Regions from separate parts of the Homo sapiens genome. Here region 2 is linked to region 1. The links are contacts of gene promoters, found by promoter capture Hi-C in human tissues and cell types (Jung and others, 2019). All regions are on one chromosome and are shown on one strand. The core of a region is centred on a gene start or on the middle of the fragment in contact, and the rest is flanking DNA. Distances in the headings are between cores, read along the strand shown.

What was found. Contacts are between HindIII fragments. The study calls those that stand out against the background at their distance.
Region 2: the fragment with the promoter of ACSF2 here is called in contact with the fragment with the promoter of SGCA in region 1 in 1 of the 25 tissues and cell types used here (adrenal gland).

Annotation. Positions count from the first base shown.
Region 1 is chr17:50,161,664-50,167,291 of GRCh38, reverse strand. It overlaps SGCA (sarcoglycan alpha), which reads right to left and starts at 1,287. Exons shown (of 10, transcript NM_000023.4): 1 at 1,215-1,287. The coding sequence starts at 1,251. LOC105371818 (a long non-coding RNA gene) reads left to right here and starts at 935. Exons shown (of 4, transcript XR_934833.3): 1 at 935-1,274; 2 at 1,813-2,081. RefSeq lists enhancers at 3,193-3,693, 5,510-5,628 and a silencer at 5,560-5,628. The HindIII fragment of the contact is 20,868 bases long and covers 1-5,628 here.
Region 2 is chr17:50,423,943-50,429,570 of GRCh38, reverse strand. It overlaps ACSF2 (acyl-CoA synthetase family member 2), which reads right to left and starts at 3,353. Exons shown (of 16, transcript NM_025149.6): 1 at 3,182-3,353. The coding sequence starts at 3,309. RefSeq lists a silencer at 3,221-3,540 and an enhancer at 3,277-3,821. The HindIII fragment of the contact is 9,502 bases long and covers 1,012-5,628 here.

The DNA.
Region 1 (5,628 bases), core at 38-2,537:
AGTCCTTGGAGCCCCTAAGGGACCGAGAGAAGCGCTTCCTTTGCTGCCTCCCAGGAAGGGATTGGGGTGGGGATGGGGGAGCAAGCCCTGCTGGGCTAGACATTTTAATCGTCTGGGTTTCGGGATTCGAGGGAGAACCTCTCCCACAACCTTTCCATTCCTTGTTTTAGGCCCCTATTAATGGTGCAGTGGGCAGGGACTGATGTTTGACTGGGAAGTGTGTGTGTGAGGGTGTGTGTGTGTGTGAGGGGATGTGGGGGGGTGTGTGTGTGAAGGTATGTGTGAGGGTCTGTGAGGATGTGTGTGAGGGTGTGTGTGCAAGTGAGTGTGTGTGAGAGGGTGTGTGTGAGGGTGTGTGTGTGTGAAGGTGTGTGTGGGGGGTGTGTGTTTGCGGGGGGTGTGTGGGGGTATGTGGGGGTATGTGGGGGTGTGTGTGGGGGGTGTGTGTGACGGTGTGTGGGGTGTGTGTGTGACGGTGTGTGTGAGGGTGTGTGTGTGAGGGTGTGTGAGGGTGTGTGAGGGTGTGTGTGTGAGGGTGTGTGAGGGTGTGTGAGGGTGTGTGTGAGGGTGTGTGTGTGAGGGTGCCGTGAGGGTGTGTGTGAGGGTGTGTGTGGGTGTGTGTGTGTGTGAGGGTGTGTATGTGTGAAAGGCACTGGGAAAAGAATCCCATGCTAAATGCCCAAGAGCCCAGAGGAGAGGAAGACGGGGCCAGGAGCCTACAGAGGAGGAAGGGTAGCCATTCTGGGCCTGGAGACCCCCACCTTCCTCCCCTAAAATACAGGGAAGAAGAAGGCCTGCCCTAGAGGCCAGTAGGAGCTGAGCAAAAGGAATCCTAAGTCCAAGAGAGGAGCAGAGGACCTGGCCGCCAGCTCCACCCTCCCTCCCAGGGCCAAATTTAGCCTGGGCTTAGAAGCTGCGGCCCAGCCAGCTCATTAAAGGGCCCACGACCCTTTGGGCCTGTGCTGTCAGACCCACCCGGGCCCTAGGACACCTCCAGCCCTCAGAGCTCCCAGCCCCTTCATCCCAGAGCCCAGCTCCCAGCCCCATTCCCTGGATCCCCAGCTGGCCATGGCATTAACACCCCAAAGCCCTTCTGGCGCCTGCCTCACCCAACCCAGATCCCTCTTCTGTGGGCCCTCCACACCTCCGTCTTACCACCCCTAAATCCTGCCCCCTCATCCTGGGCCTCCCCGCTGAACAAGGCCCCAACTTGCCCACGAGGAGAGGAGTCCAGAAGAGTGTCTCAGCCATGGCTGCCCGGCCTGGCCCGCCCGGTGAGTGACAGAGACAGGGGGCAGGGAGGAGAGGAGGGAAGGAGGGAGGTGGCTCGGGGCAGCTGGGTCCCAGCGTCAGCCTCCCCTCCCCGCCTGGAGCATGCACCAAATCTGGGATAGACACCCTCCTCGCACTCATTGTCCCTCCAACCGTCCCCTCCAGTGGCCACAGTGTTTTTTAAACCACCAACCAGGCCACCTCCATCCTCCCTTAAAACTCTAATGGTTCTCATGGCCCCTGAGTTCCCAGCTCATCCCCAGTTGGTGGCTTTCTGGCCTGTCCTGAACCTGGTCAGCTGGTCTAGAATCCCATCCTCTGCCCCTACCCTTCCAACCCCAGGCCCCTGCTCAGCCTCACTCCGCTCCTGCCTAGCTTGGCAGACTCTCTCAAGTCTCCAAGCCGTCGTCCAGGCTATTGCCTCTGCCTGCAGTTCCCTTCCCACCTTCATTCAAGCAGCAACCTTCCAGTCACCTTTCCAGACTCTGCACAGATGTCCTCTCCTCTCTGAAGCCTTTCTGACCTCCCTTCTTCTGCTAGGCCAAGCTGGGTGTCCCCTTAGCCCCTGCGTGCTTTCCTGGGCACAACACAATCACACAGACTGCTCCAAGCTCCTCGAAGACTAGGATCTTGTCACGTTTGTATCCTTGGGCCTGGCACAGGGCCTGGTAACTAGTAGGTGTAGCTGGCTGGCGGCAGCTTCCTTAACAGCAAACGTAGGTGCCATCCACCCAGCCTTTATCCCCAGTCCAAGCACTTCAGCGTGGAGGTCTAGCAAGCCCTGGACAGGACCAGCCAGCTAGAGACAGGTGAGCGGAGGAGGCACCCTCTCTGGCCCATGGAGTCAGGGTTCATTCGGCGCATAGACTTGGAGGCCTGGAGGTGGGCCACCTTGGCCACTTGCTGGGGATGAGGCCTTGAGTGCACCATTTGCCCTCTAGCCCATTTCCACAACTATAAACTGGCAAGAATAGTGCTTGCCTCTTGGCATCATTGTGAGGACTCCACAAAGTAATGAATGCAGCGCATATTTATGAAACACCTGCTATGTATCAGACATTGAAATTGCAAAGATAAGCAAACCTCTGCCCACATGGAGGTCACCTGCCAGTGGGTAATACCAGCTAGCGCTGCCAGCTACTGTGCTGAGAATCTTACATATATCTACCTATATTACCTCATTCCATCTCCTCAGCAGTTCCATGAGGCAGGTATTATTACTGTGCCCATTTAACAGATGATAAAACTGAGGCACAGGGGTGTATACCTTCCCCAAGGCCACATTGCTGATGAGTAGAATGCATGTGGACGGCTTAGCCCAGTGCCTGGCTCAGTCGATGACTGTGCTGCTGATGTACTTGCCCGGCCCTGCTTCCCCTTCCTTCTTGCCTCTGCCAAAGGATCTCAGTCCAGGGGCGATGGGGCGCGGTGTCCTCTCCCCAGGTCTCTCACTTAGGGCAGGCACAGGGGCACTCTCCCCAGGTGCCCTGAGAAGGGGGCGGGGACCTATGGCTGCCAGGGTTCCCAAATCCTTGGTGCCTGTGTGACCTCTCCTCCAGGGCCTCAAAAGGACAACAAAATACCCCAGGCAAGGATCACTTGGGTCCAGCCTAAGGGCACAGGTGTTGGCCTGCAGATGGGGTGACTGGTAGGCAGGTTACGCAGTCCTTGTCCCTTCCTCTCTCTCTCTCCACCTGACTGACCCGCTCATCCCTGGAGAGCCACCAAATTCCAGAGTCAGCGTCCCCTCAGGCAAGGCAGTATTTGTCCCAGCATCACCTGGCCATCTCTCTGTCTTCTCAGAGACAGAGGGAGGGAGGAAGAAAGGTTCTGGAGGCAGAGGAAGAGCCCAAGGGTTCTGGGGGAGCAGGCAGAAGTGCCAACCCCCTGGGCACCTGCCCAGCCTCACCCCTGAGCTTCTCCATGTGACTCCCCGCCCCCTGCCGTCCCCCTGGCTATTTTTGGAGCCACCCACTCAGCTGTCTTAAGGTAGCAGTGCCTGGCCCCAGTGTCACCAGGCCCACAGAGGCCAGCCTTCCTTAATGAAAAGCTGCAGCTACTTCCCCATCAGATCCTCCCTGCCCAATTCAAGGGAGCCAGGGACTGTCCCACAAGCCAGAAAGTCCCCAGAAACCCTTCTCAGGCCCCTCAGCCATCAGAGGACCTTCCCACTCAGAGCTGTCTGGATTGCAACCTGCTGCTTGTAACACACAGCACCTTCTGTCTATTGGGCCTAGGGGTGGGAAGGGAGGTCACAGGGTCTTTAAACTTCTTAGTTTGAAAAATTTGCAGCATACTATAATAAGCCCCCGTGTATCTGTCACCTGGCTTCAACAATTATCAACTCATGGCCAGTCTAGTTTCATCTGTACCCCTCCTGATTAATTTCATCCATCAATATTTCAGTGTGTATCTTTAAATGATAATGACTCTTTTTAACATAATCACATAACACGTTCAGCTATTAACATCATCAATAAAATTCCTTAATATCAAACTTCTAGTGTTCAAATTACCAATTTCTCATAAACATACATATTTTTACAGTGTATTTGTTTGACTCAAGATACAAAGAAGATACACACATTGCAACTGATTGATGATTTATAGGGCTTTTTTTTTTTTTTTTTTTGAGACAGAGTCTCGCTCTGTCACCCGGGTTGGAGTGCAGTGCCATGATCTCGGCTCACTGCCACCTCCACCTCCCAGATTCAAGCAATTCTCCTGCCTCAGCCTACAGGCACGTGCCACCATGCCCAGGGGTTTCACCATGTTGGCCAGGCTGGTCTCAAACTCCTGACCTCAAGTGATCCACCCACCTTGGCCTCACAAAGTGCTGAGATTACGGGCGTGAGCCACTGTGCCTGGCCAAGGCTCTTTTAAATTTCTTCAAATCTATAGGTTCCCATACATCCTTTCTCTCTCTTTTTTCCTTCCTCCCTTCCTTCCTTCCTTCCTTCATACTTTCCTTCCTTTCCTCCCTCCTTCCTTCCTTCCCTCCCTCCCTCCTTCTTCTTCCTTCTCTCCCTCCCTCCCTCCTTCTTCTTCCTTCTCTCCCTCCCTCCCTCCTTTCTTCCTTCCTTCCCTCCCTCCCTCCCTCCTTTCTTCCTTCCTTCCCTCCCTCCCTCTCCTTCCTTCCTTCCTTCCTTCCTTCCCTCCCTCCCTTCTCTTTCTCGTTCCTTGAAGGAGCCAGAAAATTTCTTCTGTAGTTTTTTGCCCTCTGGATTTTGCTGATTGCATCTCTATGGTGATCTTTAACATGTTCCTCCCACCTCCATACTTCCTGTACGTTGTATTTCCTGTACATTGTTACTGTAATTTGTAGTTGGATCTAGAGGCCTTATAAGGTTTATGTTCAATTTCCTTCGTTGAGACCACTTCATAGGTGGTGACAGTGTTCTTCCATTTGAAGGCACATCATGCGTTTCTGTGGTCTTAGTAGTGTCTTGCCTCCGCCATTAGCGTTTTATTTTTTGTGTGTGTGCAGAATAGTGATATTCAGATTTGATCACTCTGATCACCCCTTCCTTTATTAGCTGGAATAATTATAGACAGAAACTGCCCCTTGCGATTTGGTTACTGAGTGGGAAAGTTCGTAAAAGGAAGACGGGAGAAACGCTGGACTCTTCCTGTATTAAACAGTTTCTGAATAAAGAGCTGTTTCCCTAGCATCCTCCAAACTCTGGCCAGTCCGAGCTTCTTTGGTAGTAGTAGAATGATGATACATGGTTTACACCTATCTGACTGCTTCAGTCCATTGCAACTAGGGTCCCTTCTGGTGCTCACATTGCCTATCTTTAGCTCTCCGTTTTGTCATCCCCAGTTGGGGCGTCGGTCAGGAGAGCTGGAGGGGTCGGGGCTCGTACCCCACCTCGCACAGCTGGTGCCCTTGCCGTGCCCTAGGCTCCGCCGGTACTTCCCCGGCCTCCGCCTCACTCCTGCGGCCCAGCCCTGTCCTGAGCTAGTCGCTTCTCTGTCCTGGCCTTTTTGACATCCGCATCCGTCTCTCCAGCTTTCTGCCCCGTCTCTGCCCACCAGTGCCTAAATGTAAGCCCTCTGGTCCTTTGTCCCTGTATCTCCCCATCCCAGTGAATGTTTGCTGAATGAACGAATGACTGCTGTCCAGTGTGTCTCATTCAGCTTCAGTTTCTGTGCACCTGTCTCTAAGTCTCTTGAGGTCTGAGGCCGTGTTTTCTTTATCTGCATCTATACGTTGCCGTGAGGGACAAAGGAAAGGGCTTCTCGTCATTGTGATCTGATTCTCGCATCTGCCTCCCAGACTCCACCCACATCTTTCTCCCCTGTCCCGTACGCCGCCTCCAGCGCAACAACAAAGACTGCGACCTGGCCAGTCCG
Region 2 (5,628 bases), core at 2,104-4,603, 260 kb before region 1:
TCCAGCCTGGGGCAACAAGAGCGAAATTCCACCTCAAATAAAAAAAAAAGAAAAAGAGAAAGACTCTGAACAGCCCTGCGTCAAACGGAGAGGAGGACGTCCAGCAGACCCAAGGACTGGACATGTAGCTGGGTGGAAGTCACCATCTTGGCAATCAGCTAGGAGAAATAATTGGGTTCCAGAAAGAGGCCACCAATCAGGGGATCCTCTCCTACTTTCAAATCAGTCAGAATTCCCACCCAGACACCAGTCAAGGGTTTCCAGGGATCAGCCCTGCCTCAAAGGAAAGGCTGAGAACAAGAGCAAGCTTGTTTTATTCATCAGCCCAACAACACAGCAAGAAGGTAGTAAGTAATGAACTAACTAGCTCAGAGGTTAGATAACATGCCCGAGGTCATACAACCAACAGGGAGAGGACCCAGGGCTGTCATCCAGGATAGTCTAACTTCAAAGCCCTTGCTCTTTTCTCTCAGGCAAAACCAGGGTCTGGTAAGTAATAGGCCTGGGTGTTGGGCAACAGGAAAGCAGGCTGTGTGTGAGCAGATCGGAGAAAACAGAGGACGAAAGTCCAAGCGCATTCCTCACCATGGCACTTGCAACACCGAATAGTGCTCACCTTGATTTATTTCTCCTCCTACGAGGCTGCAAGTTCCTGGCAGGGTGAGGACTGAGTTCTGTGGCCTCTATATGCACAGCATGTGCTAGCATGACGCAGAATCTGTTCTCAGGAATGTTTGCTGATGGTTTCAGCCCTGAGGCTTCTTTTTTCATTTTTATTTTTATTTTTTTGAGATGAAGTCTTTCTCTGTCACCCAGACTGGAGTGCAGTGGTGCAATCTCAGCTCAGTGCAACCTCCGCTTCCCAGGTTCAAGTAATTCTCCTGCCTCAGCCTCCCAAGTAGCTGGGATTACAGGCATGTGCCACCACGCCAGGCTAATTTTATATTTTTAGTAGAGATGGGGTTTCTCCATGTTGGCCAGTCTGATCTAACTCCTGACCTCAAGTGATCCGCCCACCTCAGCCTCCCAAAGTGCTGGGATTACAGGCATAAGCCACCATGCTTGGCCTTTATTTTTATTTATTTATTTTTGACATGGAGTCTCCCTCTGTCACCCAGGCTGGAGTGCAGAGGTGCAGTCTTGGCTCACTACAACCACCGCCTCCCAGGTTGGAGCAATTCTCCTGCCTCAGACACCCTAGTAGCTGGTATTACAGGCACATGCCACCACGCCCGGCTGATTTTTGTATTTTTAGTAGAAACGGGGTTTCACCATGTTGGCCAAACCGGTCTCCTGACTTCAAGTGATCTGCCTGCCTGGGCTTCCCAAAGTGCTGGGATTACAGGCATGAGCCACCCACCCAGCCTTTATTTTTATTTTTTGAGTCTAGGTTTTGCTCTGCTGCTCAGGCTAGAGTGCAGTGGCATGATGACGGCTCAATGCAGCCTTGAACTCCTGGGCTCAAGTGATCCTACCACCTCTGCTTTCCAAAGTGCTGAGATTACAGGCATAAACCACCTTGCCTGGCCTGAGCCCTGAGGCTTCTGAAGGGGAAAGTAGGAGAGAAATCAGGTAAAACCATCACAGTCAGACAATAAGGGTGCAGGCACAAGGGAGTGGAAGGGGCAGAAAGAAAGTAGGCCAAACACTCAGAAAATCATCTGTCTGGATAAATGAGTCTCCTCCTGACACAGCAATAAGAATTTCTCTGAAGCTTGGTGCTCTCAGAGGTCCCAGGGCTGTAGCAGGTAAGTGACCTGTTTTGTTTATAGATAAAAAAAAGTCAAAGGTCAGAAATGTTGCCATGTGGCCTGATTTATTACTTATTTATTGGTTTGTTTGTTTGTTTTCTATTGGGCAGCCTCCTGAGCCAGAGTAGGCTGAGAGACTTCCCCTGTGGCCTGATTTAGTGTGATAAAATATGTACACTTTGGGAAGTAACTTTCCTCAGAGTCCTCCCAGCCTGAGGGGGCAGCCATGAGTCCAGAGGAGAGGCTTAAGAGACTAGGGGGTCAGGGGAGGGCCGAACTTGTCTAGGGAGACCCTGGGAAGTAGTGAGTGACTTCCCAGGGTCACTGGGAAGAGGACCCCACTGTCCTCATCTCAATCCCATCTACTGACCAGCCTTGATCCACTTAGTTTTCTCAGCAAATTAGGCAGAGTGATGTTAAGGCATTGCATGCTTTCTAGCATTCAGAAATCAGCAAGTTCAGAAAGTGTGATCTTGGAGTTCTAGCCAAAAAGGAGTCTGCATGTCCCTCCAACTCTTCCTACTTAGCCTTTTTAAAAACAAAAACAAATCTAGTTCTCTGAGACACAGCTTTGTTCTGACTTCTCCCTTTTCCATGTCCAGGCCCACACCCCATCTGATGTTGCTGAAAGTGCTGTCCTGACCATAGACTTAGTATCTGGCCGAGTTGAGTGGTAGGACAGGCTCAGTAGTGCACAGGGCTCCCCAGTGGTGCTGCTGAAGCTAACAGCCCTGATAACATGAGTGGCAGCCTGCTCTCTGTGTCTCAAGCACTTTCACATTTGCCATCTCACGGGGTCCTCCCAAGGACTGGTCACACCGGGAAGGCAGCTTTACTTACTGTGCTGCTGCAGAGGCAGTGAAGCTACTGGGAACTGAAATCCTCTGCCTGCCAGCTTCCATCCCACCCCTTGCACTGAGGACAGAAGGAAATAGGCCCAGGAGTAGGCAGCAAAGAATTAAAGCCATGTTAGTGAGCAGCTGATGAGGAGACAGGAGACTGCTAAGTTTAGTGGCCTGGGTCGGGGAGACTGGGGCTGATCCCCAAGTTTGCCCATGAAGGGGTTCCAACTCAGAGGCAGTGTCCTGGGGGTACAGCCCAGGCCTTGGCCCTTGCCCCTCCCCATCGGAATATTCTCCTTAAAGCCCACACTCCTTGCCCTCTGTGCCCATAAAGGAGAAGGAATCGAGAGTCTTGGACCAGAACTCGAAGTCACTGCAGCCACCAACCAAAGCCCCCTCCCCACCCAAGTCCACCAGGCCAAGCCAGCTTTTCCTATTGCCTAGGTGCTGGCGGGGGGCGGGGGAGGGGCGGGTACCTTCCCCCCAGTGCACTCGTCCAGAGGTGGGGCTTCCGAAGCTCGCCGGGACCTCCAAGTTCCTCTCCCGGGGAACTGCCCCGCCCCCTCTCTTCCCGCGGGGGGCCAGTACCTGAGGAAGCGGACACCCTGCAACCTGGCTTCCTGCCAACTCCGAGAGAGGGCGGCCCGGGCCCCCAGCACCCCCGAGCTCCCGGCGCACAGCCTCCCCAGGCGCAGCATCCCGACGTAGACAGCCATGGCTCGCTTTGCCCTGCGTCCCGGCCCGAGTAAACTTTTAAAGTGAGCCGGGGCGGGGCGGGCGCGCAGCGGGCGGGGAGGCGGGGAGGGTGGCCTCTGCCTATGGGGTGCGGCGGATTCGGTCTCCGCCGGCGGGGCGGGGCGGGGCGCGGCGGCGGCGACTTCGCGCGGGGCCACCTTCCCCTCCGACCCCGCGGCCCTCCCCCTCCCACCCTCGAAGAATAGCCCTGGTTTCCTCTGGATCCGAAGGCCCCAGCTGCAGTCCGAAACAGATCTTCCTCGCGACCATCCTCAGGGGCCTGGATGTTAGAAGCGCAAAAATTTGTTGATTTCCTAGAGGGAGAGCCAGCAGCACATCCGTGAGGGGCCAGATGGCAAGGTCAAGATCCATCCATCCCCTGCCCCCTCGGGTCACGTGCTGGCCCCGCTACTTGCGAGCCGGGGGCCAAAGGAGCAGGCGCGAAGCGTCCTTGAGGCATGCCAGCTGGAGCAGAGGGCCCCGCGGGGTTGGGGAGGCAGCCAGAACAAAGGGTGTCGCGGGTGAGCCCCCTGCGGGCCCGCTGGCGCCAGAGTCCCAGCTGAGGCCAGATGTCAGCTTCAGAAGGAACACCAGTTGTACCCCATCTCACAGGAGGCATCCTCCCATCCCTCCTCGGCGCCTCTGCCTTGACCTTCTGCACAGGGTTGGGGGCCGGACACGTAAGGTGGCCTCAGGGACTGGGACCTGTGTATTTCATCCTCCATCTGCCTGTCTTGGGGCCTGTGGCACAGTTCCCTGTGCTGCCCCAGGTGTGAATGGAAAGCAACCCTATGCCCCTCCTTAGGGTTCCTGAGGCCCAGGGGTGAGTGGGGTACTAAGACCTGGGCAGAGCTGCGGGACAGAGAAGGTGATAGCTCTGGTCCTGGCTAGGAAAAGTGGCACTGGGCACCAAAGAGTAGCACAGTTTATACCTGTTCCAGGTCCACACTGCCTCGGCCTAGCCATGACTCTTCCTCTAGAGAAGGAGCTGGAGAAGAATGGGGCAAAGGCCCTGGCAGTGTGACCTCCCCTCTCCTGACTGGAGGAGATGAAGTAAACCCTGCCAGGCAGAAGGGGTGGCTGAGAGTGGAGCCTGGCCTGAGGTGACCTTTGCCCTTATCTGGGAACTCTGGCTCCACTTGGGTCATGAGAAGGAGTCCATGCTGGGCCTCTTTATGATCTTGAGCGTGACCTCAAATCCTCCCTGGAACCCCGGTTCCTAGGGAGGGTCCCCACACTTCAGTTTCTGTGGGGTTGGGGCAGGAAGAGACAGAGGAACAAAGAGATCACCGGAGGCTGGGCCTGCAAGGGTGTGCTTTCCTAATTAGACTAACTGTCTTTGATAGCGGACCAGGGAATGTGGAGGGCTGGGGCATTCACAAGTCTGGGTTCCCAGCCGTGGCTGGCAGGCTTAGCCTCTAGCATGCTGGGTGACCCTGGGTAAACCACTGTCCCTCTCTTGGCCTATGAAGTGTGGGGTGGGTACTGATCTTGTAGGTCCTTCCACTCTTCTGGCTAGTTTGAGGGTCAGTCCTAGAGTGGGAGAGAAGTGAGTTCCTCCTTGAACTTTGCTCCAGCCTCGGCTTTTCAAGACACTGGGCTTTCCTGACTCTTCCTAGGTGCACAGGCCGTGGCATCATAGCCATCAGTTTCAGGGTATCTTGTACATGCCAGGCTCTTCAAGGACATTTTCTCTGACCCTCACAAACACCCTGCAAGGAACAGGCATGGCTTGGAATGTGTCTTTGTTTTTATGGATGAAGAAACTGAATCCCAAAGAGGTTCAGCTTCTTAAACATAGGCCAAAGCTCTGCCAGTAGTCTCTTTGTGGCTTTGGGCAAGTCACGGGGCCTCTCCAGCCTCGTTATCTGTCAAATGGGGATAATAATACCAACTTCACGCAGAGGGCTGGGTAAGAATTGAGTAGGTGGCACAGAACTGGTAGTCGGCCAGTTTTCAGTGATTGTTTCTTTTTCCATCCTCTCCTTCCTCTTGTGTCTTCACTCTAAGACCTTCCTCTGTGTAGGAATTGCAAACCTTTTTTAGGAGGGAGAATTGTTTTATTTGTGCAAAGCCCTGGTAGGCACTGGTTCTGTGGATGGGGAGGAGGGCTGGGAGAAAGTCAAGACGGCTGGTGGAAGTCCGTGAGTCATGGTGGGGGAATCACGTTGACCCGCATTCTTTGGCTAGTATAAGGAAGTGGGGAGCAGGGCAGTGGGCCATCCAGGCTCTCCAGCTTCCCTTCCCTTCCCTTTAACCAATTAAATTCCCCGTTGCTCCCCAAGGGGCCTTCTGCCTGA